4 separate regions of the Homo sapiens genome follow, and all the other regions are linked to region 1. Evidence: promoter capture Hi-C in human tissues and cell types (Jung and others, 2019). All regions are on one chromosome and are shown on one strand. Each heading gives the region's core, a stretch centred on a gene start or on the middle of the fragment in contact. The rest is flanking DNA. Distances are from core to core; before and after follow the strand shown.

Region 1 (7,966 bases), core at 3,494-5,993:
CTAAGCTACTGTTACACTTCTCTTTGAAACAAGGTCTCTACTATCACTGATGGTTTATTTGCTCCCCTATGACTTCAGCTTAGGAATCACTTTGGTTTGCTATGGCACCTACTCCAGCCCCAACTCTACACAACTTTTCAGAAAAGTACCCACCAGCGTCTTACTAATTAGTCTCTGTGTTTGTTAGAGCTCTTATGACTGCAGAAGACCATAATTCAAATGAACTTAAGAAAAACGGAGGATTTTTTGGCTTGTACAATCAGAAAGGATATTGTTGGCAGGCCTCAGGCATGACTGATCCAGTCATACACAACAGTGTCCAAATTCTATCTCTGTCTCTTAGCTGCATTTCCATTGGTGTGTTGTCCTCATGAATCCAGACAGCAGAAAGGCTCTCTCCGTGCAACAGTGGAAGGGTGAGGCTGGGTGTAGATCTACTGGCAGCTCAGGGTTACATCATCACAGCTTTTGAGCCCAGAGGAGAGAGCTTTTCCTAACTCTGCTCCAACATATGGATTCTAAAGGAGGGATTCCTGGCCTGCCTTGGGTTGGATGGTCACTCTTTGGATCAGTCACTGTGGTTGGGTGATGGATATTATAATAGATCGTGTTCCCTTTCATGAACTTTGGCTTTATATTGTGATATTATATAGTCCCATTAGAATCACATGGTTTGTGTAATGGAGAAGGAGCTGCTTCCCAAAAGGGAATGAGGTAGTGGTTAATAGAAGAAAATAAGAAAGAATGTTTAAAACAACAGGTGTCTATCATAGTTTCTGTGCCTCTTGGTTCAATTTCTTGAGGAAATCTGCTGCATTTATCCCCACCTTTGGCTTAGTTTCTCCTGGGTTGTTTGCCTACCTGTGACCCAATCGGATGGGTGGCCAACTCATATGTAGGAACACTGCAGTTAGGGCTCTGGGTGGGGAACACAATGATTGACCTATCTACCACAATAATATAAAAATAAGAAAGAATAGGCCAGGCGCGGTGGCTCACGCCTATAATCCCAGCACTTTGGGAGGCTGAGGTGGGCAGATCACGAGGTCAGGAGATCAAGACCATCCTGGCTAACACGGTGAAACCCCGTCTCTACTAAAAATACAAAAAATTAGCTGGGGGTGGTGGCGGGCGCCTGTAGTCCCAGCTACTCGGGAGGCTGAGGCAGAAGAATGGCGTGAACCCGGGAGGCGGAGCTTGCAGTGAGCCGAGATCGCGCCACTGCACTCCAGCCTGGGCGAAAGAGCAAGACTCTGTCTCAAAAAAAAAAAAAAAAAAAAAAAAAAGAAAGAATAGATCCCGGCATGCAGAAATAACCACAATTAATATTTTAGTTAATATACTTATATTCTTTTATCTATGCATTAATATATGTCTTTAAAAAATGGAATCAGCTGGGTATGGTGGCTCACACCTGTAATCCCAGCACTTTGGGAGGCAGAGGCGGGTGGATCACTTGAGGTCAGGAGTTTGAGACCAGCCTGGCCAAATGGCTAAACCTCCTCTCTACTAAAAATACAAAAGTTAGCTGGGCATGGTGGTGCATGCCTGTGCTCCCAGCAACTCAAGAGTCTGATGCATGAGAATCACTTGACCCTGGGAGGCAGAGGTTGCAGTGAGCTGAGATGGCACCACTGCACTCCAGCCTGGGTGACAGAACGACACTTGGTCTCAAAAAAAAGAGAGGCTGGGCGCGGTGGCTCACACCTGTAATCCCAGCACTTTGGGAGGCCAAGGTGGGTGCATTATCTGAGGTTGGGAGTTCGAGACCAGTTCTCCAGAGATGGAGAACCCTGTCTCTACTAAAAATACAAAATTAGTCAGGCATGGTGGCACATGCCCGTAATTCCACTACTCGGGAGGCTGAGGCAGAAGAATCACTTGAACCCAGGTGGCAGAGCCTGCGGTGAGCCGTGATCATGCCATTGCACTCCAGCCTGGGCAACAAGAATTAAACTCTGTCTCAAAAAAAAAAAAAAAAAGGATGATGTCATTTATACTATTTTGCAACACTCTTTTTACTTCATTATCTATTCTTCTACAATGTTTGTGACTTGAACTAGGGTAATGGGGATGGTGATAAGTGGTTGGATTTGACATATATATAAAGGTAGAGCCAGTGGGATTTGCTAATGAATTGGGTATGAGATGTGAGAAAAAGAAATTGCTGAAATTGTTAGATACTATTGCCTGTTCATGGGGGTATATGATGTGAGATTGAAATTAGAAGCTTTTTGGACTAAAATTCATATATACTGAGCAACTTTTGCTTTTCCAGTTAGGCATTATGGGGATTCAAAAATAATTTTATGAAAAAAATCCCTGTTCCCAAGGAACTTAAAAATCTGCCCAGAGGCTAAATAACCACAAATGAAATGATGAAATATATGGCAATAAAAATGAGTCACACACCACAACATGATTGAATTTCAAAACTATAAGGTTGAGAAAAAGATGTCAGACACAAAACAAGACCTATTAGATGATTTCATTTATATGAATTTCCAAAACAGGCAAAACTAATCCATGGTGTTAGAAATCAAGATAATGGTTACAGCTGGGATGTGGGGAGGGAGCTTGAGAAGGATTTCTGGGGTGCTAGTACCATTCTGTTTCTTCACCAGGGTGGTGGTTACATGAATGTGTTCACTTTATTGATAATTCATTGAGCTTATGATTTGTATACTTTTCTGTACATGTGTTATATTTAAATTAAAAAAGGTTAAAAACACTCCAGTTCTACACTGTGGATTCCTGATTCCAAGTGCAAGAAAAGGATATCTAAAGAGGGAGAACCTAGCTTAGGCTAGGAAAAGGGACAAGAGTAGGGCCTAGAGACTAGGCGGTGGAGAAGATGGTCCCAATGGTAGGACACTTGGGGCCCGAGTGTGCAGTAAGAAAGTGAGGGCCAGCGTGGGGCACAGTGAATAGAGTGGCTCAACCGAAGTAAAAGATGCGCAAGGTGATGTGTAAGACAGGAGCTGAGTCTGGGCGGTAATTCAAGGGAGACTGGGATTAGGGGGTCTTGAGTGCCAGGCTATGCAGTGTGGGACCTTTTGTTTCACATAGTGCAAGGTTACTGAAGCTTTGGCATATTGATCACAGTGTATTAGGATGTTGAAGAGGAGGGTCCTGGGTAAATGGAGTGGTAGGGATGGATGGAACTGTCACAGTGGGGCTGGAGAGGGGGTGGATGGAGGACTGTATGCTGTGAGGCTCTCTGAGATAGGCCTGGGGGTGTTGATCTTGGCTAGTGTTCTGTTCCCAGTTCTTGTTAGTGTAGATGTTTAGGTTTGCATCCTTTCCTAAGTGGGCCTCAGGGGCATCAGACTCAGGCTTGGTGTTCAGGGACAGCTTCGTAATGTGCCCCTGAGGAGTGCCCCATGTTTGGAGGTTTCTCAGAAAGTGCATGCTCTCACCTGAGCCAATCCCACCCCAACCCTCCCAAGTGGGGTCCAAACATGGGACCCTTCTAGAGTATGCCCCCTTCAGCCCTGACAGTGCAGAGTCTGTTTGCAGCAACGCAAGCCTCAGCGCCCAGCACGGAAGCCTGGGGCAGCTGTGTGGGCAGGATATGCTGGGGGCCAGCCCCCTCTACCTTATTTAGGCAAATGTGAGTATTTCTGAGTCCTCCCGCTGAATCCCTTCCAGCTTACTGACTCCTCTGTAGAGTGCAGATGGTGGAGGACAGGAAGTAGTTTCTTCATTTCCAGGAATCCTGGGCAACCGAAATTCCCATGTAGAGAAGCATCTTCCCTTTGTCTTCACACTTTGTAGCCAACCAGATATGCTGTCCAAGGGGAGAATAGTTGATTAAGGCAGAAGCATGGGCCTGATGAGATGTATTCCAGAGCCAGAAGGGACAGTATTCTTCCCTCTAGGGTGGGATGATCAATATCTCAGTAGGGACAAGGAAGATAAGGTTTGTTCTTTTCCAGTATTGCAGAATAGGAGGGGTTCTAGAAAATAAAGCAATATGGTGTTTTATGATTTCACACATCATATGAATTATCATACATTTGTTCTTCACGATCCTTGGCAATGATCGATTATCATATGAGTTATCTTATTTTCCGTTTTGTGCTTCTCAACCTCATGAGGAAGAGGAGGAAAAGAGCATTACCGCTGTTTGTCACATGAGGATTCATTTGCAGATAGTATGAAAATGGAGGCAATTTTTCCAGTCTCAAGAATGGTAAAAGGCACAGGTGGGACTTGAACCCAGACTCTTGGCTTCAAGTCCAGAGTTTTCTCATGCACCAGCTACCCCTCAACAGGATTTGACTATCCTGCAGTAACCCTAGAGGAAGTTTAGTCCTTGGGACGCTTGGCCTGCCAGTCTCTGAAAAAAATATGATGGGGATGGTGGTGGTGGTAGTGCACGTTGGGTTGAGGGGACAGAGGAAGAAGCAGGTTGATGGCTGTTGTCCATCAGGTAACACAGTGTTTCTTTTCCCATTTTCTCTGGAATCAAGAAGCACCCAGAAGACTGGGCTGAGCAGAAGACTGGAGAGGGTGCAGGAAAGATGGTAGCAGGAGAGGAGAATAAAGCACCATCCAGGAGCTTAGTGGAGAGTGCCCCTTTTCTCTCCCCAACTGGATCAGATTGTGTAGACAGTGTGGGAGGTGCAGCTGGTCAATGCTTAACCGAAGGTGATTTCCTCACACACTCAGGATTAGGGCAAGAGGATTTGTAGACCTCTCTATGCTGGAATGGATGTCATACCTTGTAACTTCCTCAGCAGTGTAAAAATCCAACATGTACCTTCCAGCTGTCTACAACACAAGTGCATGCTCGTCGGACAAGAGGTCACAGCTAAGGCAACAATCCACATGAGTTGGGAAGGGCTCATTTCACCTGTCAAACACTGCTGCTCTCATGTGGAATGCACTGTGGCTTTTTGGTCAAGATAATTACCGTGGAAGATCCTAGGTGGCAGCAAATCCCAGGTGAACAGACTGAGCCGTGGAGGTGGCATAAGGCAACCCTAGCCGAGGTGAGTGCAGACCAATCGTTTGGCATTTGGGGGCTGGCTGGGAGCAGCTGTTCCTGTTATAATCTCAGGTGTGTATCTTTGCCTTCATTAAGCTTCTTAATATTTCTGATGTGAGGAAATGATTTTCCAGTGGGTGCAGTTGCACCTTATGCAAAGATGTATTTTGAGAGTTAAATGAATTAAGTCTTGATCCCTCATCCTACCATTTCCAGATTTGGTGACCAAGTCCAAATTCATCCTCCATACTATTCTTCTAGATTTTACAGACTGTGCATATATCTACATTTAGTAACTGCTGTCTCTCTCTCTCTCTCTCTCTCTCTCTCTCTCTCTGTGTGTGTGTGTGTGTGTGTGTGTGTGTGTGTGTGTGTGTGTGTGTGTGTTTCTGCCATGCCAGGGGTCAGGGCTTCTTCTTGGGGCTGTGGCCTTTTCTCCTGCTACATTGGTTCTTTAAGATCCTTGGCAATGATCCATGCTATAACATAGATGAACCTTTACAAATATTATAGTAAGTGGCCTGCACCTGTAATCTCAGCACTTTGGGATGCTAAGACAGGAAGATCGCTTGAGCCCAGGAGTTCGAGACCAGCCTGGGCAATATGGCAAAACCCCTATCACTACAAAAAATACAAAAATTGGCCGGGCATGGTGGTGTGTGCCTGTAGTCCCAGTTACTTGGGAGTCTGAGGTGGGAGGATCACTTGAGCCTGGGAGGTCGAGGATGTAGTGAGTTATGATTGCACCACTGCACTCCAGCCTGGGTGACAGAGTGAGACCCTGTCTCAAAAAATAAAAAAAGTAAAATTATTTTCTAATTAAAAAAAAAATTAGGCTAGGCACGGTGGCTCACGCCTGTAATCCCAGCACTTTGGGAGGCCGAGGTGGATGGATCACTTGAAGTCAGGAGTTCGAGACCAGCCTGGCCAACATGGGGAAACCCTGTCTCTACTAAAAATACAAAAATCTGCTGGGCGTGGTGGCAGACGCCTGTAATCCCAGCTACTTGGGAGGCTGAGGCTGGAGAATCGCTTGAACCGGGGAGGCGGAGGTTGCAGTGACCAGAGATTGCACCATTGCACTCCAGCCTGGGTGACAAGAGTAAAACTCCATCTCAAAAAAAAAAAAAAATTATCCAGGTGTGATGGTGTGCACCTGTAGTCCTAGCTACTTGGGAGGCTGAGGCAGGAGGATCACTTGAGCCCAGGAGTTTGGGGCTGCAGTGAGCTATCTTCATGCCACTGCACTACAGCCTCACTGACAGAGCAGGACCCTGTCTCTAAAAAAAATTTAAAAATAAAAATAAAGAAAATATTATAGTAAGTGAAAGAAGCTAGATACAAAGGACCACATATGGTATGATTCATTTATATGAAATGTCCAGAATAGGCAAATCCATAGTCAGAAAGTAGAAAAATAGTTTCCAGGGAATGGAGGAGGGATCATTAAAATATCCTTAAATCTGCCAGGCATGGTGGCTTGTCCCTGTAATCCCAGCACTTTGGGAGGTCAAGGCGGGAAGATCATGAGGTCAGGAGTTGGAGACCAGCCTGACCAACACGGTGAAACCTCATCTCTACTACAAATACAAAAATTAGCTGGGCATGGTGGCACACGCCTGTAATCCCAGCTTACTCAGGAGGCTGAGGCAGGAGAATCGCTTGAACCCTGGAGGTGGAGGTTGCAGTGAGCTGAGCTCGTGCCACTGCACTCCAGCCTGGGTGACAGAGCGAGACTCCATCTCAAATATATATATATATATATATATATATATATATATATATATATTCTTAAGTTGATTGTGGTGATGGACACACAGTTTTGTGAATACACTAAAAGCTATTGAATTGTATATTTTAAATGGGTGGAATGTATGGTACTTGAGTTATATATCAATAAAGCTGTTAAGAAAGAAAAGATCCTTGGCAATGCAAATGTGGTGAGTTGTCTGGAGAGACTGTCCATGTGCCAAGGCTATAGGAAGGTAGGGCAGGTCGTGAGGACAGGTTCTGTGCAGGAGTGGCTGATGTTCTGACTCAGCTTAGATGGGCAGAGGTCAACTCAGTCCTCGGGATTTCTGCAGTCCTCTTCCTTTACTAGATTATTCTTGTTTTTCCTAGTCCAATCCATATTCTTCTTAGTCACTGGTAATTACGTGGCCTCTGCTATCCAGAGTCCTTCCTAGGTATAGAAGCCCTATTTGACCTTGTCCCTGGAATCTATCAGTTTTCCTGGTAGTTGGTTTGCTTTCCAGACTAATGGCCCAGGACAAATATCCATGAAAAAACTTTGCCGTCCCTTAATTTTTCCTCTGTTTCTGTGATTTTTCTGAAATCAGGTTTCTTCACATCTCTTTTAGACTGAAAGCTGTGCGAGGGCATGCAATTTTTTTTACCATCTCTGCAACCTTTCATCAATCGCAGGCCCCACAACATAGTTGGCACTCAATATGTGTTTGCTAATATACATTTTCAATCCAACTATGTATATATATATATATCCTTTTAGAATAATTTTCTTTCCTTCTTTCTTTTTTCTTTTTCTTTATTTCTTCCTTCCTTCTTTCTTTCCTTCTTTCTTCCCTCCCTCCTTTCTTTCCTCCCTCCCTCCTTCCTTCCTTCCTTTCTTTCTTTTTCTTTCTTTCTTTCTTTCTCTCTCTTTCATTCTTTCTTTCTTTCTCTTCCTTCCTTCCATCCTTCCTTTCTCTCTCTCTCTCTTTCTTTCTTCTCTCCCCCCTTTCTTTCTTTCTTCCCTCCCTCCCTCCTTTCTTCCTTCCTTCCTCTCTCTCTCTTTCCTCTCTGTCTCTCTTTCTTCTCTTTCTTCCTTCCTTCCTTTCTTTCTTTCTTTCTTTCTTTCTTTCTTTCTTTCTTTCTTTCTTTCTTTCTTTCTTATCTTTCTCTCCCTCTCTGTCTCTCTTTCTCTCTCTCTCTCTTTCTTTCTTCAGAGTCTCACTCTGTCACCTAGGCTGGAGT
Region 2 (7,070 bases), core at 4,571-7,070, 190 kb after region 1:
TGGTCATAAGAAGGAAAAGTAGGTTACTTACGTTGTTGTACCTCCAGATAGGTTCCTTTGCCAAAGATCAGGGGTCTGGCACAGCTGACATACCTAATCCAAAAACTACCTTGCTTTTCCCTTTACGGCAACCCTAGCCCCAGTTGCCAAGTCACATGATATTCATCCCATGTGATTTTCTGTCCCATCTGGCCTAGCCTCTTCTCCTCCGTCTTAGAGGTTGTCCTTCAGGATGGAACAAGAGGTGACTCTAGCATCAAATAGAAATCCAAGCTTTTGCCCATATTACAATCTGACAGAATTTGTGCTCAAATAAGAGAGAATGAATATAGACTGGAAAGATGTTTTTTGGTTTGATCAAGAGGAAAGAAGGGTGGAACGTTGGTCATAGAGCAGTGGTTCTCCACCTTCGGGCTACACTTAGGTGAGGCAGGGACCTAGCAGGTTATATATACCATGCATTCCAACCTTTTAGGGGAAATTTATTTCATATCTGAGAGTTTTGCATCATTGCCAAGTATTGTGCAGCAGCCAAACTGCTTAGTACAAAATAGAATTAAGTTTTTCCATCCATTTTAATAACACATTCATGCATATCAAATTTTAGCAAGCTTCAATGACACTCTCACACTTAGAAGTGACAGTTAAATTAATTTCTGTTATACGTGAACATCAGAATCTATGAGATTGCCTGTATGTCACTCATAAAAACCAAGGAGGGAATATGGATTTTTCGGATCAGTTTACAATCCTTAAAAGACTGTAGATGATAGTTGGAGAATCACTAACATGAAGGGTGGTTCCTAGTCGTTGTAAAGTAGAAGGATGTCAGAAGATCCAAAACCTAGTTTTGACTCTGTCCCTTTCCAAGTGTGTAATCTTGGCCAAGTTCCTTAAACTCACTGAGCTTTATCTGGTTTCTCTACGAAGTGAGGATAACATCTTCCGTATTATAGGTTATAAGATTAGATACAGCATCTGTGAACTAGAGAGACTCGATGTAATTATTAGAATGTTTATTAGGGCTAAACTCAGAGAAGATACATTTTACTAGAAGCGTGGGGAATGTAATTGCACTAAGAACAGAGCTCCCAAGCAGGAAGGATTGTTGGGACAGGTTGCTGAAAAAGAACAGAAGCTATTTTTTGGTGTTATGTGATATGAAGAGGGTGCCCACTTCTTAGGGCCGTGGGTTAGGACTGGTATTCAGGTTTCTGTCTCTCTAGATCTTTTCTCTAGGTTACGTGTGACTTCCATTCTACTCCCCAATCTTCCCTTTCGAATCCAAAAGCAGTAGTCCTTACAGTGGCCTACAAGCCACCCTCTCCCCAACCCATCACCAATCTGACCTCATTTTCACATTCTCTCCCCATCACTCCCTCCCCTCCTCCAGCCACACACCCCAGGCAGCCCTGTGTCCCCTCTGCCTGGAAGTGCTCTCTCTCCAGAGGTCTGCATGCCTCACTTTACCACCTCCTCGGGTCTCTGCTCCACTGTCACCTTTCCAGTGAGACCTTCTGTGACTCTTCTGTTTAAAACTGCATGCTGGTCCCTCCCACTAGTCCTCTTTATTCTCCTTCCCGGCTTTATTTTTCTTCTCAGGGCTTATTACCACCCTAACGCACTGTATATATTTTTTATTTATTTATTTAGTTTACCATCTGTCTTTTGCCATTAGAAAATAAGCTCCAATATGGCAGAAGTTCATGCCTGCTTTGTTCATGTCGATTCCCTGGCACCCAGAACAGTGCCTGGCACTTCGTGGCAGAGACCTGTGATGGGTTGCAGAGCCAGGACTCAGGCTCGGCTCTGTAGGTTACCAGCTTCCCTTCATTTTTCTTTTCTTTTGCTTTATACCATAGCTGACTTTTTCTCTGATTCATTCATTCCTTTATTTATTCATTCACTCATTCAACAAATGTTTGTTTAGTGCTTTCAGTGTACTTATAGGTGCAGTAAGAAACAACTCAAAGTCCTTTCTCTCACAGAGCAAGGGAAACAGACAGTAAACGAGCATATAAAGATTCAAGTAGACATGAGGGCTATAAATAAAGCAGGGAAAGGGGTCTTCAGAGTGACATGAGGTGGTAGGGAAAGGATTCACTGGAAATGACATTTGAGTGGAGACCTGGAGGAGGGGAGGGAGAAAACTGTGTGAGTCCCTGGGAGAAAATGGCTCCAGGTGGAAGGACTTGCAGGTGCAAAGGCTCTGTTCTGGGAGATGCTGACTGGGAGTGAGAGGGAGTGCCAGATGCCAGGCCAAGGGCTAGTGGGCCTGGAGGAATGGGAAGGTCATCTTTTGGAATCTGAGAAACATTTTGATGAGGCCAGAATTATGTGGACTCCTTTTCTTGAGGGAAAGAGTGATGCTCTGATCATCGTCTGGACCTTTCTGTATTTAGGGACCCTGGGTCTCCAGGGGTGTAATGTGAGAGATGGGCCTCACCTGGCTCCTCCTGGGGAAGGGGAATGCTGCTTTGGGTAACTGGTTTTGGCGGGGGTTCAGAAGTTCTTCCTTGGTGAGAGAAGTGATGGGGATGGCACTGGAAGGGAAGTGGCATAACTGTTGTTTCTGATTCAGCTTGAAAAGGAGCTCATTAGAGACCTGAGGCAGAGGCTGGGCCAGGCAGGAAAAACCTCCACACATGCCCTAGTCTAGCTGCAGCCCTGATGGAAGAGCAGACTTCTTAAGAGCACAGATGCTGGCATCAAGCAGGTGATTCAAATGATGACTTTACTAAGCTGTGTGATCTTGAGGAACCCCTTTAAGATTCAGTTTCCTGATCCATAAAACGCAAGTCATGGTACCTCAATTCCACATGATCGTAGTGAGGACTGAGTGAAGTGATAATCATTAAAGGACTTAGCCCAGTGGCCTAATAAATGGTAGGCACTCAAAAAGTGGTAGTTACATAATTGTGACATACAATAATAGATTGCATTCAAAGTCCATCACATGGCCCACTTCCACGCAGATGTTCCCAACGACCATGCCTCTTTTCCCCACTGCCGCTGTTGTTACCATAGAAGTACACGTTTCCATTACTTTATTCCATGCTGTTTTGTCCTGTTTCTCTGTTCTGTTTTACGAAGCTAAGTGGTCTCTCCAGGTTTACTGTATCCAGAGGACTAAAGTGTGGGATCTACAGCTGTGGGTTTGTATAGACCTGTTCTGTTAGTTTTGTGCTACCCAGGAGCTCCGTAAGTAAGAACTTGAAAGAAGCTCCCAAGGAAAAAAAAAGCATCAAAAGGCTTCTGAGAAGATAAAGGCCCTGGGTTTGCAGTGCAGTCTCTTTAATCCAATGTTGGTAGCTTAAAAATAGAAGCTGCCATTCAAAGATATTCTAGGTTGTGCCCCCTCTGGATACCCCTTACTTTTTCACTTCAAAGGCTGATGAAATGCACCAATATGAAGTTCAGCACTTCCCAAACTTCAATTAAGCACATCTCCCCCGCTTTTTTGGTCATAGTCATCTGTCATAATTTGCTTAATAATTTAAAAAAATTTATTCACTTTTTAACTTAAAATATAATTAAAAGGAAACTTGAAATCACATGGGTTTGATAGCCTAGTTGTACTATTCTGATAGCCATTAAAAGATAGATCCATGCAAATAAAAAGAACGTCTCTCCATCTGAAAATATGTGCTGTGCACTCCGCAGTTAGGGAAATATGGACCAAGTAAATGGGTAAACAGAGGAACTTAATTCATCCCTTACTTGGCAAACAAAGGGAAATTAGGATAATCAGTCTTTAGCTTTGTTGGAATTGTGGATAAACTTATTTTAGTGAAAATTTTAAGGATAATAAGGTCTAAAGGCAAAGGCCCAAATTAGTTAAAATTTCAAAATCTTACTAAGATGTTGATTTTTTAAAAAAGTCTGAACATCTCTGCACTGACTCCACTAGCACAACTTTGGGTGTCTTTCTCCCTGACGGCAGGGCCCCTGCCCCTTTTCTCCCTGCAGTGTGTGAGGTCTTGGGTTGCTCATGCCTGTCCTTCCCCTTCCTCAGCCTCCTTGCCTGCATATGCCTGGAACTGCTTTGTCCCCATTTGGTCTCTGAGAAGAGCCCACCATCACCACCCTATCTCTCTAGAGCCTTCTTTTACCTTGAAAAACCTGAGCTGAGTGCCAAAGTCCCAGCCAGGGCAGGGCATGCTGTTTCTTTTCCAACAGCTGGTTGGGCAGATTTGGGACCACTGACCCCTATTGCTAGACTTCCCTAGGACCTTCGAAATGGGTTTTTGTATTGGTTTATTACATTTTCTTACTTAAGATTAATATGTACTATCTAACTGGAATCTGCTGCCAGGTGGAGACCACTGTCTTATTTTATTTTATTTTTTAGCAAGACACGGTCGAATTCAAATGTCATTGAAAGGACACCAAAGATGCCTTCTGTGTTGAGCACAATCCTTCAACAACCTTAGCATTGATTCTTGCATAACTGTTAATAAGTGACTGGCACCATATACTCTTTGCAAAAACGATGAACACTGGTGAGTGGTAGGGAACTCTCCTGGCTGTGTCCTGGAGACTTCAAAGCATTTCTTAGTTGGAAGCACTACACATTCACTTTGTCCTGCTTGGAATCTGGTCTCAGTGGGAACCAGAATGTCCCATATTTCTCACTAGTAACCTAGTTTTCATTTGCAGCTCAAACAATTAGAAACAAATGTCTGAAACAGGTTATTTTCTTCTAAAGAGAAATATCGCAACACCAGGGACTACTTGCGCTCGCCCCACCCTCCATGCCCAGGAGACGGATTCAGTTCTGAGCTCTTCCAGGAGGATGTGTTTGGCATAAGGGAGGTCAGAACGTTTGGAATCACGTTGGTAAAACCACCTGGACTCAAGTCAGCTTCATTCTGTGTCCATTCTGACTCTGCTCAGGGAGTTGGGCCAATGACTCTGTGGTTTCTACAGCCTGACCCAAATTCGATGGACTGGGCAGAGTTCTCTGTTTCCTCTGAGCCAGAAGGGTCCCTTCATATGCCCCAAACTCTTTTTTTACAGACACCTTCTGCTCCTCTCCTATGGAAAGGATTAACCATATTTCACCTCTTCCCAGGAGTCCTCCTAAATGCTAGCTATTTCACCCATTTCCCATTTCAGGATTATTTCTGCCTCCTTAGATGGAGGATGCCTTAACCTTAAACTTCAGATAAATAAATGAGTTACTTACTTGGTTCCACAGTCACACGGGTTCCTTTTCCAAAGATGAGTTTATCGGTGTCACAGCACTTGAGGACGTTCCAAAAACCTCAGCGCTGCTCCCACCTACCTTCTTCCCGTCAGCTTTAGGACTGGAGGATCTTTAAGGCTCAGCTCCATGAAAGATGGCACTTGTTGCTTACCCAGCCGGTTCATAGATGGTTAATCATCTGCAGGTAGGGACAGGTTTGCTTTCGGAAGGCTGTTGTCTGAGGAGTATGGAGGACCATATTTCCTATGGCGGACCTTTCCAGCACAGTACACTTGATGCAGTGCTCTGAACTGTTGCTTTCTATTGTTTTACATTGCTCTCACTTCCTAGACCCATACTCAGCTCTCTGTGTTGGAAAGCTGGCACTGTCAAAGGGGTGGGTCTTGGCTCCATGACTACTCCAGGGTTAAGGCCTTTACAGACACCAGTGCTGCTGCTTTAAAGGCAGATAACGTGTGGCACAGCAAGAGGAGAAAGGGTGGCATGAAGCACTGGGTGATTTACAGAGCAGTCAGCTTTAGAATGAGCAACTGTGGCCGGTGATTGCCTACAAAAAAATCAATCTCTCTTCAAATCCATCCTCCCAAACTGCAAAGCAAAGCACTTGGGTAAATCTCTCTAGAGGTTTGAATTTAGAAATTCCGTATGAGGTGGCTCATATAACTCTCTTTTGCAATAGAATCAACATGAAAACAAGACAAGAATAGTTTTTAAGAAAGGCCTTTTTGTATTCCCCAAATGTGCTGTAAGAAAATGTAGAAATGCCAGTTTCACCCAAGGAAGAACAGCAGTGAGTGAGAGGTCAGCAGCTGTGGTCATCTCCCTGGTCCAGTCAACTTCCTGCTATCCCTTCCAGGCCCCAAAGCAGGGAGGGAAGCTGCTTGCTGTGTTTGTCTCCTGAGGCATGGGACCCAGGGTGAGGATATCCCAGGGAAATGGCACTTTTGCCCCTGCAGTTTTTGTACAGGTCTCTGTAGGTTTTGTAGCACTGTGCGTATCCCCCAGTCACAGTGCTACAGAGCTTTACAAAAACTTCCCCTCGGTTTCACACTATATGGCCCCTGAGAATCCCCAGAACCAGATGTTTTCTCCAAGTCAAGCTCCAGCAAGATCAAAGGGTCCTGACAGTTAGGTCAGGCCAAGCTGGCTCAGGTGCTTCTGTCTGGGGCTCTTCTGCCCCACTGGCTAGATCTGCCTTGGGGTTTGTGACTAGAATGGACTTTTAGAAATAATCACATCCATTCCCATCTGTGCTTTCTGGCCAGTCTGCCCTCAAATGGTTTCCCACTGAGGAGTTTGTCGGGTACTTAAACGTCTCATGGAGATTCTACATGCTGTGGGTTAGGCAGAAAAGGCTTGTGGTCAGTGTAATTTCTCCTGTCACCTGCTAAGCTTCTGAATCACCTCTTCCTGCTTTACACTTGAATAGTGTTATACAGTTTACAAAGGGTTTTCATGTAAATTTAAAATTGTGTCCCCTCCATTGACCTCCTCCCAGTTGCTAAATTCAGGCCAGTAGCCCATATGGTGCTTTGTGCGATTTAGAAAAGGCAGCCCTGCTGGGTGAATGTAGAGATAGCCCCTTGGGTTCAAGCTTGGCGAACAGATTGCACTTTTGTGTGGTTTATAAAAGGCCTTCCCTTTCCGGAAGATGCAACGCCACATCAGGGCCTTGGCTGGCGGCAGAGCACGCATTGAATTTTAGCCCCACTTCTCCTCTCTGCCAGATGCCCTTGTGAAGGCACAACCTGAGCAATCAGAGGCAGCAGCTCTGGCCAAATTCAACGGATGATTTTCAGTTTTAATCTTGTTTGACCTCAGAGTTTTGACCCAGTCATTGCCTTCTCAAAACCTCTCCTCA
Region 3 (7,853 bases), core at 1,060-3,559, 160 kb before region 1:
CAACCCAATACAGGGATTTTTGTTTTGTTTTGTTTTTTTGAGACGGAGTCTCGCTCTGTCACCAGGCTGGAGTGCAGTGGCGCAATCTCAGCTCACTGCAACCTCTGCTTCCCAGGTTCAAGAGATTCTCCTGTCTCCTCCTGAGTAGCTGGGACTACAGGCATGCACCACCATGCTCAGCTAATTTTTGTATTTTTTAGACGGGGTTTCACCATGTTGGCCAGGATGGTCTTGATCTCTTGACCTCATGATCCGCCTGCCTCGGCCTCCCAAAGTGCTGGGATTACAGGCGTGAGCCACCGTGCCTGGCCTCTGATACAGGGTTTTAATGGATTGTGATGGTGTTGTGATTTGCAAGGTAGAACAAGGCACAGGAGGAGACCAGTCCTAACCTAGGCATTTAGAAACCATTCCTGTAGAAGTTTGAGCTGATACCTGAATGGCGAAGAAGAATTAATCAAGAGTAGAAGAGGAGTGTTCCAAGCAGCAAGAACAGAATGTATGAAAACCTAAATGCCAGAAGTGCTCCTTTCAGGCACTGAAAGGAGTTCAGGGTGGGCTGCAGTGTTGAATTTCAGGAAGAAAAGGTTGAGAGTTGGCTTGCAGAGGTAAATAGAGTCAAGGCATAGGTTGTTCAAAGCTTTATAAGCTGTGCTAGTTATTATTGTGCTATAACAAATAGTCTAAAACGTAGTGTCTTAAAACAGTAGTCATTTTTTTTATGATTTCTGTGGCTTAGAAATTTGGGAAGGGCTTAGTGGGACAGTTCTAGGTCAGGGTCCCTCATGTGGTTGCAGCAGATGGTGACAGGAGCTGGAAAAACGGTTGCTGAGGAAGTTGCAGACAATCTGGGCTTCTTTTTTTTCTTTTTTTGAGGTGGAGTCTTGCTCCGGTTGTGCAGGTTGGAGTGCAGTGGCGCGATCTCGGCTCACTGCAACCTCCACCTCTCAGATTCAAGCAATTCTCCTTCCTCAGCCTCCTGAGTAGCTGGGATTACAGGCGTGCCCCACCACGCCCGGCTAATTTTTATATTTTTAGTAGAGACGGGGTTTCACCGTGTTGGCCAGGTTAGTCTTGAACTCCTGACCTCAGGTGATCTACCCGCCTCGGCCTCCCAAACAAAGTGTTAGGATTACGGGTGTGAGCCACCGCACCCGGCCTTCTTTATCAAATTGTGTCAGTCTTTCCATGTGGTCTTTCCGTATGGACTGTGTTGAGCTTTCTCACAGCGTGGTGACTCGTGGGCAGTCAGACTGCTTATGCAGGCAGCTGAAAGCGTCCAGAATGAGTGTTGTAGCACCCAAAGTGGAAGTTGCATTGCCTTTTATGACCTAGTCTCTGAAGTTGCATGGTGTCAATTCTGTCATACTCTATAGGTAGAGGCATTCACAGAAGACCATCCAGTTTCGAGAAGAGGGGTACAGACCCTGCCTCTTGATGGGTAGAGTGTCAAAGTCACATTGTAAGAAAGGAATATGGGATGGGAGACGTTGAGGCATATTGGAAAACTCCAATCTATTGCACCAACTATATTAAGGAGTTTGGTGGGCTGTCTTCTAAGGCAATGAGAAAACTCTTAAGGCCTTTAAAAGCAGAAGAGTGGCATTTGTGATTTAGATTTTAGAATTTGTGAGTTTAAGAAAGATTAGTTTTTCTATGTAGGATTGAAAGCTGGGAGACAGGTGGGAAGCTGCTGCTATGATCCTAGTGAGAAATGATGGTGGCTTGGACTAGAGTCATGTTTTGGGGACAGGGAGACTTAAGACTTGGACTATGAGTAGATATGAGTGGAAGTTGTTGATGACAATAACATGCCCAGGTCTTTGGCTTGCATAAATGGGTGGATGGTGACGCCAGTTACTTGTATGGGGAACACCGAAGGTGCAGTAGGTTTGGGAGAAATTGATGGAATCAGTTTTGGACATGTTGAGTTTGATGTGCCTGGTAATGTCCAGTAGGTGGTTGAATATTCATATATATCTAGAATCATGACAGTTGGGCTGATGATATACTTTTGGGAGTCATCATTGTATATATGGTTATTGAAACCATAGGAACAGGCCAGGGCGGTGGCTCACACCTGTAATCCCAACACTTTGGGAGGCTGAGGTGGGCTGATCACTTGAGGCCAGGAGTTCGAGACCAGCCTGGCCAACATGGCGAAACCCTGTCTCTACTAAAAATACAAAAACTAGCCGGGCATGGTGGTGTGCACCTGTAGTCCCAGCTACTCTGGAGGCTGAGGCAGGAGAATCGCTTGAACCCTGGAGGAAGAGGTTGCAGTGAGCCGAGACAGCTCCACTGCACTCCATCTTGGGTGACAGAGCAAGATTCTGTCTCAAAAAAAAAAAAAAAAAAAAAAAAGAAAGAAAAAAATAAAAAGAAAAAGAAACCACAGGAACAGATGAGATGACCTTGGGACAAGATGTAGAAAGGGAGGACAAAGGGGCTTAGAAGCATTCTGAGGAATACCCACATTTGAGGGATAGGTATTTTGTGAAAAGATGGAGAAGGAGCATCTAGAGAGATAGGTGGAAACCTGGAAGATGGTGAGTGGAAGGGAGTGAATTGAGAAGGAATGAATGACTACCTGTGTCCAATCTGCTAAGAGGTCAAGCTAGGTAAAGATTGAGTATAGTTGATTGGATTTATTGATATGAAGGTCACTGGTGGCTTTTCATGTGGGCTTTCTCCTAAGGCAATGAAATTTCAGGGCAGTGAGGGTGAAATCAGGTTTCAGAAATATCATTTATTCACCCAGCAAAATGTATTAAGTGTTACTGTGTGTCTAGTTCAGGACTATGCCCATGGGTACAAGGATAACTGTTATCCACTCTCTGCCCTCACACAGCTCTCGTGGGTGGGAGAGACATATGTACACTGTTCTAATGCAGTGTAGTTAATTGGGGAGGTGAGAGCACAGAGCAAGGGCAGCATACCAGAGGTGGCAGGTTTACACTCAAAAATAGCCTTTCTGGAGGAGCTATTAAGTTTAAAATAAGGAATAAAATGTCATTTGGAATTGGCAACTCAGAGGGTCAAAGGAAAACTTTTGCAGGGTGAAAGAGGAAGGAGTTGCAACATCTCAGACTGCATTGTAGAGACCCAGGAACGGGAAGGAATGTAGACATGCTCTTCAGATGAATGATTCTGAAAGCATGGAGGGTGATTGTTAGAGGAAAGGACCAAGGTTGAGGGACGATTTTATGAAAAAGAGTTAAGCCTGCCTTAGGTTGGTTGAGGTATGTTTCTGGAAAAGTTGGATGAAATATCTCTACCCTACAATGATGCCTTCTCCATGGCTGTAATGATTGGGTGCCCTGAGTCAGACTTCTTTTTCTTGAACAGTGTAGGGGATACCCTTATCCCTTTGGAAGGCACTGGTGCATGGTGGTGAACAGCGTGGAATCAGGCAGGATTCAATCAATGCTAGGTCAAATTTATTAGCCTCAGTTTCCTCTTGTTCTCCTTCTCCTTCTCCTTTTCCTCCTTCTCCTTCTTCTTCTTCTTTTTTTTTGACAGAGTTTCACTCTTGTTGCCCAGTCTGGAGTGCAGTGGCGTAATCTCAGTTTACTGCAACCTCCGCCTCCTGGGTTCAAGCGATTCTCCTGCCTCAGCCTCCCGAGTAGCTGGGATTACAGGTGCCCACCACTATGCCCGGCTAATTTTTTGTATTTTTAGTAGAGATGGGGTTTCACCATGTTGGCCAGGCTAGTCTGAAACTCCTGACCTCAGGTGATCTACCTTCCTCGGCCTCTCAAATTGCTGGGATTACAGGCATGAGCCACCGTGCCCAGCCCTCAGTTCTCTCTTCTATAAAATGGGGTCCCTACCTCATAGAAATGTGATCTATATTTGTACCATATTTTCATCTTTTTCTATTCAAATCATGACAGTTTCCAAAGAGCAAACACAGAGTCTCTGCTCCTGCCAGTTGTTTGCAGTCTTTTGGCAGGCATAGTCTACCTTTAGAGCTGTTGAACTACAGCCCTAGATAGTCTGGTATTACTAATAGACCTTGAAATCATTTACTGGTTATTGCTTAAGTAGGTTTTTTTATACGGGTGGTTGACTTCATTCATTGCTGATTTCATTGTCAGGGTAATAACGTTTTGCCCTCTCTGTCAGGAATATTGCTTCCCCTCCCCCACCCCAGCAGCAGCCTCCATGCACTCAGTCCAGATAACAGTGATCCTGGTGCTTGCCTGCACCCCATTCACTCCTCCAGTGACGTGTGGGTAGATAGGTTGCCTCTCAGTGACTTTCATAGCAACTGATTCTTGTAATTGTCAATGTCCACTTTTGAGTGAAGGCTGGAGACTGGATCTTAATCTCAGAGCCTGCACAGGGCCTGGAACACAGTGGGTACTCAATATAAGCTTAATGAATGAATGAATGAGTGAGTGAGTGAAGGAATTCTGAGTTTTGAAGGAGCCTCACTGTCCTGTCTAGGGTAGTAGAAATGGTTGCTTTTCCCAAACAGAGAGGTGTGCAGATGGCACCTCCTGAAGCTGCTTATTCTGACTTCTTGGAGAAATTCGTGGACTGCCCCAGTGCTCTGAAGTTCTAGGCATCTCCATTACCACAGGGGGAGATAATCCCACTCCCCGTCTCACATTCTTGCATACAGTTAGGGAGGTATGTGGTGTGGTGGAATGGATGTAGGCTTTGGAGCTAGTCACTGCCTGACCTCAGTTTTCTCAAGTGTAAAATAAAGATAATAAAACTTACTCTCTGTCAGATTAAATTAGAAGATAGGTGTAAGTACATAGTGACCTGGCACACAGTTGTCAGTTAAAAATAGTATCTATTACTGCAAGTTATATTCATATCATATGCATCTTATTGATTTCTAAAAGCTTTACCTTCCGCATGCTGTCTTTGGATGACTTAAAAGCAGTTTACATTTTACTTCACAATAGCTCAGGGATCAGAAAGGAGGGCTGAGCCTTTTCTTTCTGTTTTGCAAGAGAGGTGGAACTTTCCTCTCAGCAAGAGGATAGGTGTCCAGAAGTCCAGCTCCACCCGACTGTCCTTTCCTCAGAGCCAAGGTGTTTTGGCCCACTGTTCACAGGTGGACATGACTGTTCTTGCCTTACCTACACTTGCCCACACTGAGACCTAGTTGTTTTGCCATTCAGGACACTACCAGGACATTTTTACCATCTATGCCTTCAGTATGTCCCCTGTACCAGTGAGTCAGCAGTACCTGGCAGTTCAGGGCTCTTTGTTTACAGAGTACTGTTCTTCAGGGATCAGGCAAAGATTCTTCGTGTCATACACATGTGGCCACAGTGAATTGCATGTAGTGGGTTCTTCAATAAATGTTGGCTGGATGAATGAACAGAAGATATGATTCCAGGTTCAACTTGGCTGAGAAGGGTATTTCGTGCTTTTGCCTTTCAGGGTGCTGGTGGGGGCTGAGGGTTGCTGTGGGAAGGGGGCAGACAGCTTACCCTGAGTCTGCCAGAGCCGCTGTGGGCTGTGAAGGACTTTGGATCTCTGTGTGTCTGAGAGCTTTGGCCAGGTGTCCTCGTGCAGCTTCTCCTGGTACCAGAATGACTGATCTCATGTACTTGTGGCTAATGAGGTGGAACAGTCAGATGCTGGGCCCCCCAACGGACTTTTGCCCTTTGAACCTTCTACTTGGAAGCTAGTTGCCTTTTTCAGAGGGCTTTTCCCAAGAGCCATCTGAGGGTGGAGGTGAAGAAACTTACCTTTTCTGGCCCATATTCACCTCAAGAAATAGGCTTTCATCAGAGCCTTGGGTTCTAGTGTGGGTTTGTTGTGAACTTTGGAACAAACTCTTGACCAGCAGTGAAGGGGTAGACCTTTATGCTGCTTTGATCATCAAGTCCCTTTGGGGGCTCATCCTTGCTCTCTTCCTTTCTATGTTCTATGTTTCTATGTTCCTTTCTTTTTCTCTCTGCCTCAGAAGAAGCTGGGCAGGTAGCCTAGAGGAGGTTGCGGAAGATGCTGGGCAGCAGTGGGTCCTAACTCTGGCTGTGGATTGGAATCATCTGGAGAATTAAGAAAACAAGGCCGGGCACGGTGGCTCACGCCTGTAATCCCAGCACTTTGGGAGGCCGAGGCGGGCAGATCACAAGGTCAGGAGATTGAGACCATCCTGGCTAACATGGTGAAACCCGTCTCTACTAAAAATACAAAAAATTAGCTGGGTGTGGTGGCAGGCGCCTGTGGTCCCAGCTACTCGGGAGGCTGAGGCAGGAGAATGGTGTGAACCCGGGAGGCGGAGCTTGCAGTGAGCCGAGATTGCACCACTGCACTCCAGCCTGGGCGACAGAGTGAGACTCTGTCTCAATTAAAAAAGAAAAGAAAAGAAAAGAAAAGAAAAGAAAAGAATAGAAAAGAAAGAAAGAAAGAAAGAAAGAAAGAAAGAAAGAAAGAAAGAAAGAAAGAAAGAAAGCAAGCAAGCAATACTCAGATTGGGCACGGTGGCTCACACCTGTAATCCTAGCATTTTGGGAGACTGAGGTAGGAGGATGGCTTAAGCTCAGGAGACCAGTCTGGAGAACTTGGTCTCTACAAAAAAAAAAAAAAAAAATTAATTGGGCATGGTGGTGCATGCCTGTAGTCCCAGCTACTCAGGTGGCTGAGGTGGGAGGATTGTTTAAGCCCATTTGGTCCAAGCTGCAGTGAGCCAAGATTGTGCCACTGCATTCCAGCATGGGCAACAGAGTGAGACGCTGTCTCAAAAAAAAAAAAAAAAAAAAAAGAAAGAAAGAAAACAATACTCATCACTCCCACTCCCTGACTACATAAATCTGAACCACTGGGGAGAAGAATGAGATGAGAATTGGCTTGGAGAACGAGAATTAAGGAAGCAGAAAAATTGCTTTTGAGGAGAATTGATGAGGGTCTTGTGTCACTAGAGGTGGGAAAAGCCGTTCTCAATTGTCACCATGCTTCAGAGTCACCTGGGGAGTTTTAAAAACATGCCGATGCCTGGGTTCCACCCCAGAATTTCTGACTTCATTGGTCTGGGTGGGGCCTGAGCACTGGACTGTTAAAGCTCGTCAAGTGATGCTAGTTTGCAGCCAGGATAGAGGAGCCTTGAGTTAGCAAAGGGTTGCGACTGTTCTGATACAGCTGCTCTGTGTGTGGTTATTTCCGTAGGTGATTACCTAAGGAAACACACCCAGAGAAGCAGATCCTCAGATTAGCCTGCGAAACTGTCTCAGGTCTCCTGCATCAGAACCTCTGGGGTGTGGGGCCCTGAAGTTGTGGGTCGACAAATTCCTCAGGTGGTACTGATGCTCACTCAGGCTTGAGATCTGGTACCTGAGGACTTGAACTGACCCCTAGCTAAGCAAACCAATAAGGATTGGATTTACACGGCTTGGAGAAGGGACTCACGGGGTTGTTACTATAAGACCCTCCTGGTACAAACTGCCTGCTTGCTCCCTCAGAGTGGTCAGAGCCACAGGGACCAAAGTGCTGACTGAGTTCCAGGAAGGAGAGCGGGAGGACTCTGATCCAGTGACCCACAGGGATTGCATTTGGTGTGTCTTCTTGCCAGAGGTGTAACTGCCCAAGGGGTTCACCTTGCCCACTGCCTAGACAGAGCCAATTCTTCAAGACAGGGATATTGCAATAATGAGTAATTCACACAGAGCCGGCTGTGCGGGAGACCGGAGTTTTATTATTACTCAAATCAGTCTCCCCGAACATTCTGGGAGCAGAGTTTTTAAGGATAACTTGGTGGGTCAGGGGAAGCCAGTGAGCCAGGAGTGCTGATTAGTTAGAGATGAAATCACAGGGAATCAGAGCTGTCTTCTTGCTCTCAGTCAGTTCCTGGGTGGGGGCCACAAGATCAGCTAAGCCAGTTTATT
Region 4 (7,644 bases), core at 501-3,000, 250 kb before region 1:
TCTACCAAAAATACAAAAGTGGCCGGGTGTGGTGGCACATGCCTGTAATCCCAGCTACTCGGGAGGCTGAGGCAGGAGAATCGCTTGAACCCAGGAGGCGGAGGTTACAGTGAGATCGTGCCATTGCACTCCAGCCTGGGCAACAAGAGTGAAACTCCGTCTCAAAAAAGAAAAGAAAAGAAAAGAAAAAGGGCATACAATGAAAAGTCAGCTTCCCATCCTGGTCTTCTACTCACCCAGTTCCCCTTTCCAGAAGCAGCCAGTACCATCTTTTTTTTTTTTTTTTTTTTTTTTGACAGAATCTCACTCTGTTGCCCAGGCTGGAGTACAGTGGCACGATCTCGGCTCACTGCAACCTCCACCTCCTGGGTTCAAACAATTCTCCTGCCTCAGCCTCCCAAGTAGCTGGGATTACAGGCATGTGCCACCATGCCCAGCTAATTTTTGTATTTTTAGTAGAGATGGGGTTTCGTCATGTTGGCCAGGCTGGTCTCGAACTCCTGACCTCAGGTGATCTACCCGCCTCGGCCTCTCAAAGTGCTGGGATTACAGGCATGAGCCATCCTGTGCCTGGCCTGTAACAAACCCTTTTGTGAATCTGATGAAATTCATGAACCCTATTCTCAGACACAGGTATGACTACACAAATACATCAGATTGTATGTACCATTTCACAAGACGCAGACTCCATCAGTAGTCTGGGGTAAGGATCCCAGCCTGTACTGCACCTTCTCCCTTAGTATAATTGTGGATCCCCTTGCAAAATGAAAATACAGGGCTCCTTGTTCGAAGAATTTTAAGAACATAACAGCAGAACATTAAACTAAGCTTAGGGCCCTATGTGACTGCACAGGTCACCTTTTCTCCTTGCTCTTCTACTACTATCTTTATGGTAATTATTCTCAAATCTGTTTCTCTTGTCCCAACTTGTTCTGAATTTCAGATTCAGATTCAACTCTAGAGAGCTGCTGAAACTCTATATAGATGTTCTTCTAGCATCTCAAATTCAGTGTCTCCAAAATGGAGCTCCTTACTCTCACTACCTCCTCTGCCCCTTTACTCCAAGTTCTGCACCATCCTCTCACCACCTACAACTTTTTCCTCTCTTTATACTCATCCACTAAGTTGCCAAGTCCCATTGATTCTGATGCTCAAACCCATGCCTCCTTCCTTTCCCACTGCCACCCCCCTCAGGATGGCCTTTCATTATCCTCTGTATGTATCACTATTAACTGGTCCCTAAACTCAGCTCCTCAGTACTTGCCTCTGCAGCTCCAATCCATACACACCTCTCCCAGCCTCCTCTTCCCAAAAGACCATCCTAATCATGACTTCCACATTCAGATACCTGCAGTGACTCTCCCTGCCTACAGAGTTGGGCACAAACTCTTTTTCCTGGCATTTAAGGTCCTTTACAGTGGGACTCCAAACCTTCTTTTCCATGCTCATCTCTTACCCCTCCTCTTCATGTCCCTGAGGTTTCAACCCAACTGTACAGCCATCTGGTCCCTTAATGGGCCCAGTGTGTTTTCCTGTGTTTTAAAATTTGAGCTGCCTCTGTTCATGGTCTTCAGAATTTAGAACTTGCTTACTCCACTACAGCCATGTAATTTCTCTGGACCTTTCACCACAGCCACTGCACATGGCCCTGCCCATTGTGTCCCCGCATCTTGACTGCTGTCCCCTCTTTCTCTTCCTCCCATCCTTATTGGAAAGGGAGCCTCAGATGCAAAGCTGGATAAAATCATCATTAAGTATCAAGCAGAGCTGGGCGCGGTGGCTCACGCCTATAATCCCAGCACTTTGGAAGGCTGAGGTGGGTGGATCACCTGAAGTCAGCAGTTCAAGACCAGTCTGGTCAACATGGTGAAACTCCATCTCTACTAAAAATACAAAAAATTAGCTGGGCGTGGTGGTGGGTGCCTGTAATCCCAGCTACTCGGGAGGCTGAGGCAGAAGAATCACTTGAACCCGGGGGGTGGAGGTTGCAGTGAGTGGAGATCGCACCATTGCACTCCAGCCTGCGTGACAAGAGCAAGACTCCATCTCAAAAAAAAAAAAAAAGTATCAAGCAGACATGAAATCCCAACTCTACTGCTTACCGGGTAACCTCAGGCAAGTTACTTACACTCTGTTTCTTCTACTGTTAAACAGGTAGTAACACCTTATATAGGTTTTTTTTTTTTGCTTGTTTGTTTTTTGAGATGGAGTCTCACTCTGTCGCCCAGGCTGGAGTGCAGTGGCACGTTCTCAGCTCACTGCAACCTCTGCCTTCTGGGTTCAAGCTATTTTCCTGCCTCAGCCTCCCTAGTAGCTGGGATTACAGGCGCCTGCCACCACGCCCAGCTAATTTTTGCACTTTTTAGTAGAGATGGGGTTTCACCATATTGGCCAGCTTGGTCTCGAACTCCTGACCTTGTGATCCACCCACCTTGGCCTCCCAAAGTGCTGGGATTACAGGTGTGAGCCATGGCGCCCGGCCCTTTTTTTTTTTTTTTTAAAGAGACAAGTTCTCGTTCTATCACCCAGGCTGGAAGGCAGTGATTGCAGCTCACTTCAGCCTTGAACTCCTGGGCTCAAGTAATCCTCCCACTTCCTGAGTAGCTAGGACTACAGGTGCACTGCTTTTTTTTTTTTTTTTTTTTTTTTTTTTTTTGACAGGGTCTTGCTCTGTTGCCCGTGCTGCAGTGCAGTGGTACAATCACAGCTCACTGCAGCCTTAACTTCCTGGCTCAAGGGTTCCTCCCAGCTCAGCCTCTCAAGTAGCTGGGACTATCTGAATGACACCACACCCAGCTAATTTTTTGTAAAGACAGGGTTTTGCCATGTTGCCCAGGCTGGTTTCAAACTTCTGAACTGAAATGATCCTCCTGCCTCAGCCTCCCAAAGTGCTGGGATTACAGGTGTGAGCCACATGCCTGGCCAATTTTTATATTTTTTTTTGTAGAAACTGGCTCTCACTATGTTTCCCAGGCTGGACCTTATATAGTCTTTAAGGAATTAACAGATAAAGTGTATAAAGTCCTAAGGATAGGGCCATTATTCATCTTATTATAAGTACCCATGCTGGGATGGTCCCCTTGGCTCCTCCCCAGCTACAAGGACTCAGGAAGCATTGCAACCCTCTTTCCATCAAGTTCTGGGAGGCTGTGTGGGGTAGAATGGAGGCTGGCCCTCAGGTGCTCAGGTAGCTGTATTGTATGTCTAGGGGTGGTGAGGGGAGCTGCTGCCTCTGCTCCCTTTGTTCAAACTCATGGCTCAGGCAGCAGCAGGCGTGGGCGTCCCCAGGGGAGGCAGTGACAGTTTCAGTACTCACACGGGCTTTGCAGGTGACAGCTGGGGCTGTGGAGCCCTGCCAGAGGAGGCACAGACAGACCCCCATCACGCCACAGCTGATGGGCTTCCCTGGTGGATATGGGCCCCACTTTGAACCAGCCCAAGTCAAAGCTGAGTACCGCTGGGAGCTAAGTGTAGCCTCTAGCCTGTTCCCTGCAGGATAGAGTGGGGGTAAGGAGATGAGGCTCAGAATCTAGAGATTTGGTCCCACTGTGTCACTAATTTACAAATGACTTCTAGGAGGTCCCTGTTCCTCTCCAAGCCTGTTTTCTCATCGGCAAACGCAAGAAGTGGACCTGATTATCTGTAAGGGCCTGTGGCCCTATGACATGGACTACCCCAGGCCAAGTCAGTTCCAGAGCCTCCTTAGAGAGTTAGGTTCCTTGCTCCTCTGGGCCTGAGTTTTCTGGTGGGTAACAGCAGTTTCCATCAACACCCATTCCTTCCCCAAAGACTCCAAGAACAGAGTCAAAAGTGAACAGAGGCAGTACAAAAATTATTTATTGAAAAGGGAAAGGGTGGCCCCTTGCTGGTGCCCCCCTGGCCCTGGCCAAAAGGGGTTGCCACTGCTCATTATCTGAATGCAGAAAGTCTGTCCACCCCTTACCTTTAATAACCTTAAAGGGGAAGTGCCGTGGTGGACTGGTAAGTCAAGAGAATCCATCTCAGGAACAGCACTTCCAGGCCCTTGCCTTTAAGAACTCCTTAAAGGCAAAGTGGACACATGCCGCACCAGATGAGAGCCAGAACGTTTTCGGGAAGGTCCCTGGAGGAAGTGTTTTCGTGTCTTTACCTTTAAGACTCTCTTAAAGGTGAGGCATGTTCACGCAGCGTACAAAGGAGGCAAACTCCGTCAAGGAGTCTACGAAGCACTTTTCCAGATCTTGCTTTTAGAATCTCTTTACAGATGAGGTGGCCAAGCGCGAATTAATAAAAAACAAAATACCTTGCAGAATTATTTTTCTTCCCGACCCAGCAGAACCCGCCCCGCTCACCGGCCGCCTTCAGGTCTGCGTCCTCGCCTTCTAGGCGCCCTGAGGCCCAAAGCTCCAGAGAACGCGTTGGGGCGGGTGTGGAGGTGCCGCCGAGCGGCCCCGGGCCGCCCCCGGCGGTCACACCGGGGCATCCTGGGAGTTTTTGGTTTCCTAGACGGCCTCCACCAAGGAAGCCGGACGGGGGCGGGGCGGGGCGAGGGGGGGCGAGCGGAGGGCGCGGTGACCATGGCGACCGCAGTGGCCATGGCGACCGCGGCTCAGAGCACCGAGAGGTCGTGACACGACCTGGAGCGCTGCTTGAAGAACTTGGCGTTGCGCGGCACCAGGTTGGCGAGGAACCTCTTGGCTTTCTTGGTGAGGCTCTCGCGGCGTGCAGGTGGCGCAGGGCCCTCGGGGCTGCCCGGATCGGGCCTCTGGCCTCCGGCGTGGTTTCGGCCCCGCCGCAGCCGGATCTGGCGCACCGCGCCCTCGAAGAGCTCCCTCGTGTTGTGGTGCAGTGCGGCCGACGTCTCGATGTGCTTGCAGCTCAGCGTCCCGGCCAGGTGGCGGCCCTCTGCAGGAAGGCACCGGCTCAGGCGCCCGCTGGGCTGTACGGGACCCGGGGCGAGGGTGGGTCTAGGGAGGGCCTGGGCGTGCGGTGGCAAGGGATTGGTACTAGTGAATCTTGCAACCGAGAGAACATGGCTGAGCTCATATGGTGGGTCTGTGGAGGTGCGAAGGAGAGGGAGAAGGAGGCCTAGGAGAGAGGTGAGGGGAAGTGACAAGAAGGGATTCTCAGGATCCTCGAGTGGGGCATTGGGAGTGTCCCCCTAGCCTGGGTCTGATTGCAAGTGAGTGCGTCCGCGATGGTAAAAAGGCCTTAGGGAGAAGAGGTGACTTGGAAGGGAGAGCATTCCCCTGAGATCGCAAGTATGGAATCTGTTCAGGATACACACCCTCCAGTGATACCTCCCGGGAGCGGGCCAAGTCGCTCTTGTTTCCAACGAGGATAACGGGTAGGTCGTGGTGCGGCCTCCCAGCCCGGAGCCGAAGTAGGGTCTCTGGAACTTTGGAGAAACTCCGTCGGTCGGTGACTGAGAAGACGATGAGAAAGGCGTCCCCGGTCTGAAGGCAGTGGTCCCGCAGCCACCCTCCTGCATCCCCCTGCAGACAGGCAGAGGAACGTTAGGGCTGGAGGCATAGGAGATCCTGTCCAGCACCTACACCTCAAAGAGGAGGAACAGGGCTGTGAGGCAGAAAGAAGCCACCTGCTTAGGACAGCAGAGCTAGTTAATGGCAGAATCTCCCTACCCAGAGTGTTTGTGGAGGCGGAAGAAATTAGTAATATGAGGATCCTAGACTAGGGTAGCCATCCTAATTTCTTAAGCTCTTGATTCAAAAATGAATATTATTCACACGTCTGTAATTTGGCCTCTTATTTCTACATAGTAACCTTTATGTCCAAATATTCAGAAGTCCTCACTTTTTTCCCCCTTCCCTGATATTCCAGATCCCTGAGCTCTTGTCTTGTCACATCAGATTCCTTCAGGCTGAAAAATTTATGGATGGAGTCAATTTCAGGGTGTCCAGCCTAGCTTGGAGCTGCAGGGTTTGTCAAATTCCCATCCTAAGTTTGCTCTGAGTCAGAAGATCCTGGAAAGACTGTGGGTCTTAACAGCCACAGGCTGTAGTGTGGGTCTTTGCTTTCTGAGGTGATATGAATGAAAGGTCAGGTTCCAGTACATGTGGAAACCAGGACCAGCAGTCCCACCAGCCTTCAGCCAGACTTTGCCCTTCCCCAGTTCTCCCAGCTTCATCACCTGCCTGCAGCCACATCTTAGTTCTCACCTGTTCCCAGATGTCATAAACGACTAGAGTCACTTCCTCCTTATCCACCATGATGCGTCTCTCATAGGTATCCTCTGCTGGGAAATAGGGAGAGGGTATAAAGTCCATTAGGAGGTTTCCCAACATTTGTGAGACCTGGTAACCAGGGACACCTCAGATCTCAGCACCAGGGAACCCTGCCCCTCTTCAGGGAGGCTGCCACAGAAAGCATTGGAAAAGCTTCTGTTAAGCTCTGTCCTTCAGGGGCTGCTCAGGTCACGAGCACTTCCTTCCCTGACCAGGGCCCCAGAGCCCCCTCAACCCCTGGAGGGCTTCCCCAAATACCTGGGTTCTCCGGTTCGTGAGCACTGTCTCCCTGGAGACCACCAAAAGTGCCTGCTAGGGTGCTCTTGCCCACGCCGCTCTCCCCCACTAGCATGACCTTGAAGATGCCATCCTTTTGAGCAGGGGCTGCCTCCCCTGAGCCCAAGGAGTCAGACGAGCCAGAGGATGAGGCCTGAGGTGGCCAGTCAAGTTCATCTACAGCCTGGGCCCGCCGGAGCTGGTGCTTGTAGGGGACAGGCATACTGCCTCTTCGTCTGGGGGCCCCAGGGGCAGAGGGTAACCCGCTCCGGTCCAACTCTGCCAACAGTTTCTCTGACTTCTTTAGTAGCGTGGCATCTGCTTCTAAAATAAAATGGGAGGGCAAAGAAAAGGAAGCTATGAGTGGGATATGCTCAACCATATGCAGAAGGCTCAATCCAGGCTGTTCCAGTATCAGAGGCCCAGCTACACCCACTTGATGACCATTACCCAGAAGGAACTGAGAATGTCTGGCCTGACCTCTTACACTAAAGTCTCCAGAAGCCTGAACTGGAGTTGACATGATAGCTTCTCCAATGCGGTCCCAACCCCAACCTATTCAAAACGTGCCCCATGCAGGGAAGGGACCTGAATGCAGGCTCACATACCCACTCACACTTTACACTGATACACAGGCAAACCCCCAGACTAGGCCTCTGGCCCTGTACGGTGGAGTTGGGGGAGGTTTGGGGAAGCTGCCTCTTTTTCCATCAAGAGGCCCTTCCTCCTCCTGTTTCCAGCACTGGTAATCCCCAAACTGAGGAGCAGAGAGGATGACAAGCTGAAACTGCTGCCCAGTGTCTGGGGAGTAGGTATAGCAGAGTAAAAAACTTTGTAGTGAGCTTCTTCCTAGGAAAGGGCCTTTGCTTTTTGAGATGATGTGCGTGCTGGGTCTCTGTGGGTTCTCTGTGTGTGTGTGTGAGAGAGAGAGAGGGGCTGCTGCTTCCCGTGGCCCTGTAGGTGAGCATCCCTCATTGCGTGGTTGGATGTGAGAATCCTGCATCCCTGTCTGTCCCTGTGAGTGGGAGAGAATATTGTGTTCATAGAGCAGTAGAAGTAGAGAGAGAGAGATAGTGTGTGTGTGTGTGTGTGTGTGTGAGCGAAAGGGAGAGTGACAATGCGTGGGTCAGGGTAACTGGAGGAG

The links. The method cuts DNA at HindIII sites, captures the fragments that hold promoters and counts their contacts. A contact is called where the count stands out against the background at its distance.
Region 2: a fragment that was not itself captured here is called in contact with the fragment with the promoter of OR6J1 in region 1 in 2 of the 25 tissues and cell types used here (pancreas and spleen).
Region 3: a contact is called between a fragment that was not itself captured here and the fragment with the promoter of OR6J1 in region 1, in 2 of the 25 tissues and cell types used here (aorta and spleen).
Region 4: a contact is called between a fragment that was not itself captured here and the fragment with the promoter of OR6J1 in region 1, in 1 of the 25 tissues and cell types used here (lymphoblastoid cells).

Annotation. Positions count from the first base shown.
Region 1 is chr14:22,641,129-22,649,094 of GRCh38, reverse strand. OR6J1 (olfactory receptor family 6 subfamily J member 1) reads left to right here and starts at 4,743. Exons shown (of 2, transcript NM_001348233.2): 1 at 4,743-4,997. The HindIII fragment of the contact is 14,040 bases long and covers 4,088-7,966 here.
Region 2 is chr14:22,448,258-22,455,327 of GRCh38, reverse strand. All of the region lies in intron 2 of TRD-AS1 (TRD antisense RNA 1), which reads left to right. It also overlaps TRA, TRD, TRDD3, TRDJ1 and TRDJ4. Among named protein-coding and RNA genes, the nearest start is that of TRD-AS1, 31 kb to the left of the region's middle. RefSeq lists an enhancer at 6,842-7,070. The HindIII fragment of the contact is 4,427 bases long and covers 3,607-7,070 here.
Region 3 is chr14:22,793,960-22,801,812 of GRCh38, reverse strand. The region is part of intron 2 of SLC7A7 (solute carrier family 7 member 7); the gene reads left to right. Among named protein-coding and RNA genes, the nearest start is that of SLC7A7, 18 kb to the left of the region's middle. RefSeq lists an enhancer at 5,230-5,299. The HindIII fragment of the contact is 4,620 bases long and covers 1-4,619 here.
Region 4 is chr14:22,883,854-22,891,497 of GRCh38, reverse strand. It overlaps REM2 (RRAD and GEM like GTPase 2), which reads right to left. Exons shown (of 5, transcript NM_173527.3): 2 at 6,483-6,824; 3 at 6,159-6,232; 4 at 5,267-5,474; 5 at 3,820-4,884. The coding sequence ends at 4,589. Among named protein-coding and RNA genes, the nearest start is that of REM2, 4.5 kb to the right of the region's middle. RefSeq lists enhancers at 3,061-3,160, 7,487-7,644 and silencers at 4,391-4,720, 4,961-5,030. The HindIII fragment of the contact is 3,706 bases long and covers 1-3,603 here.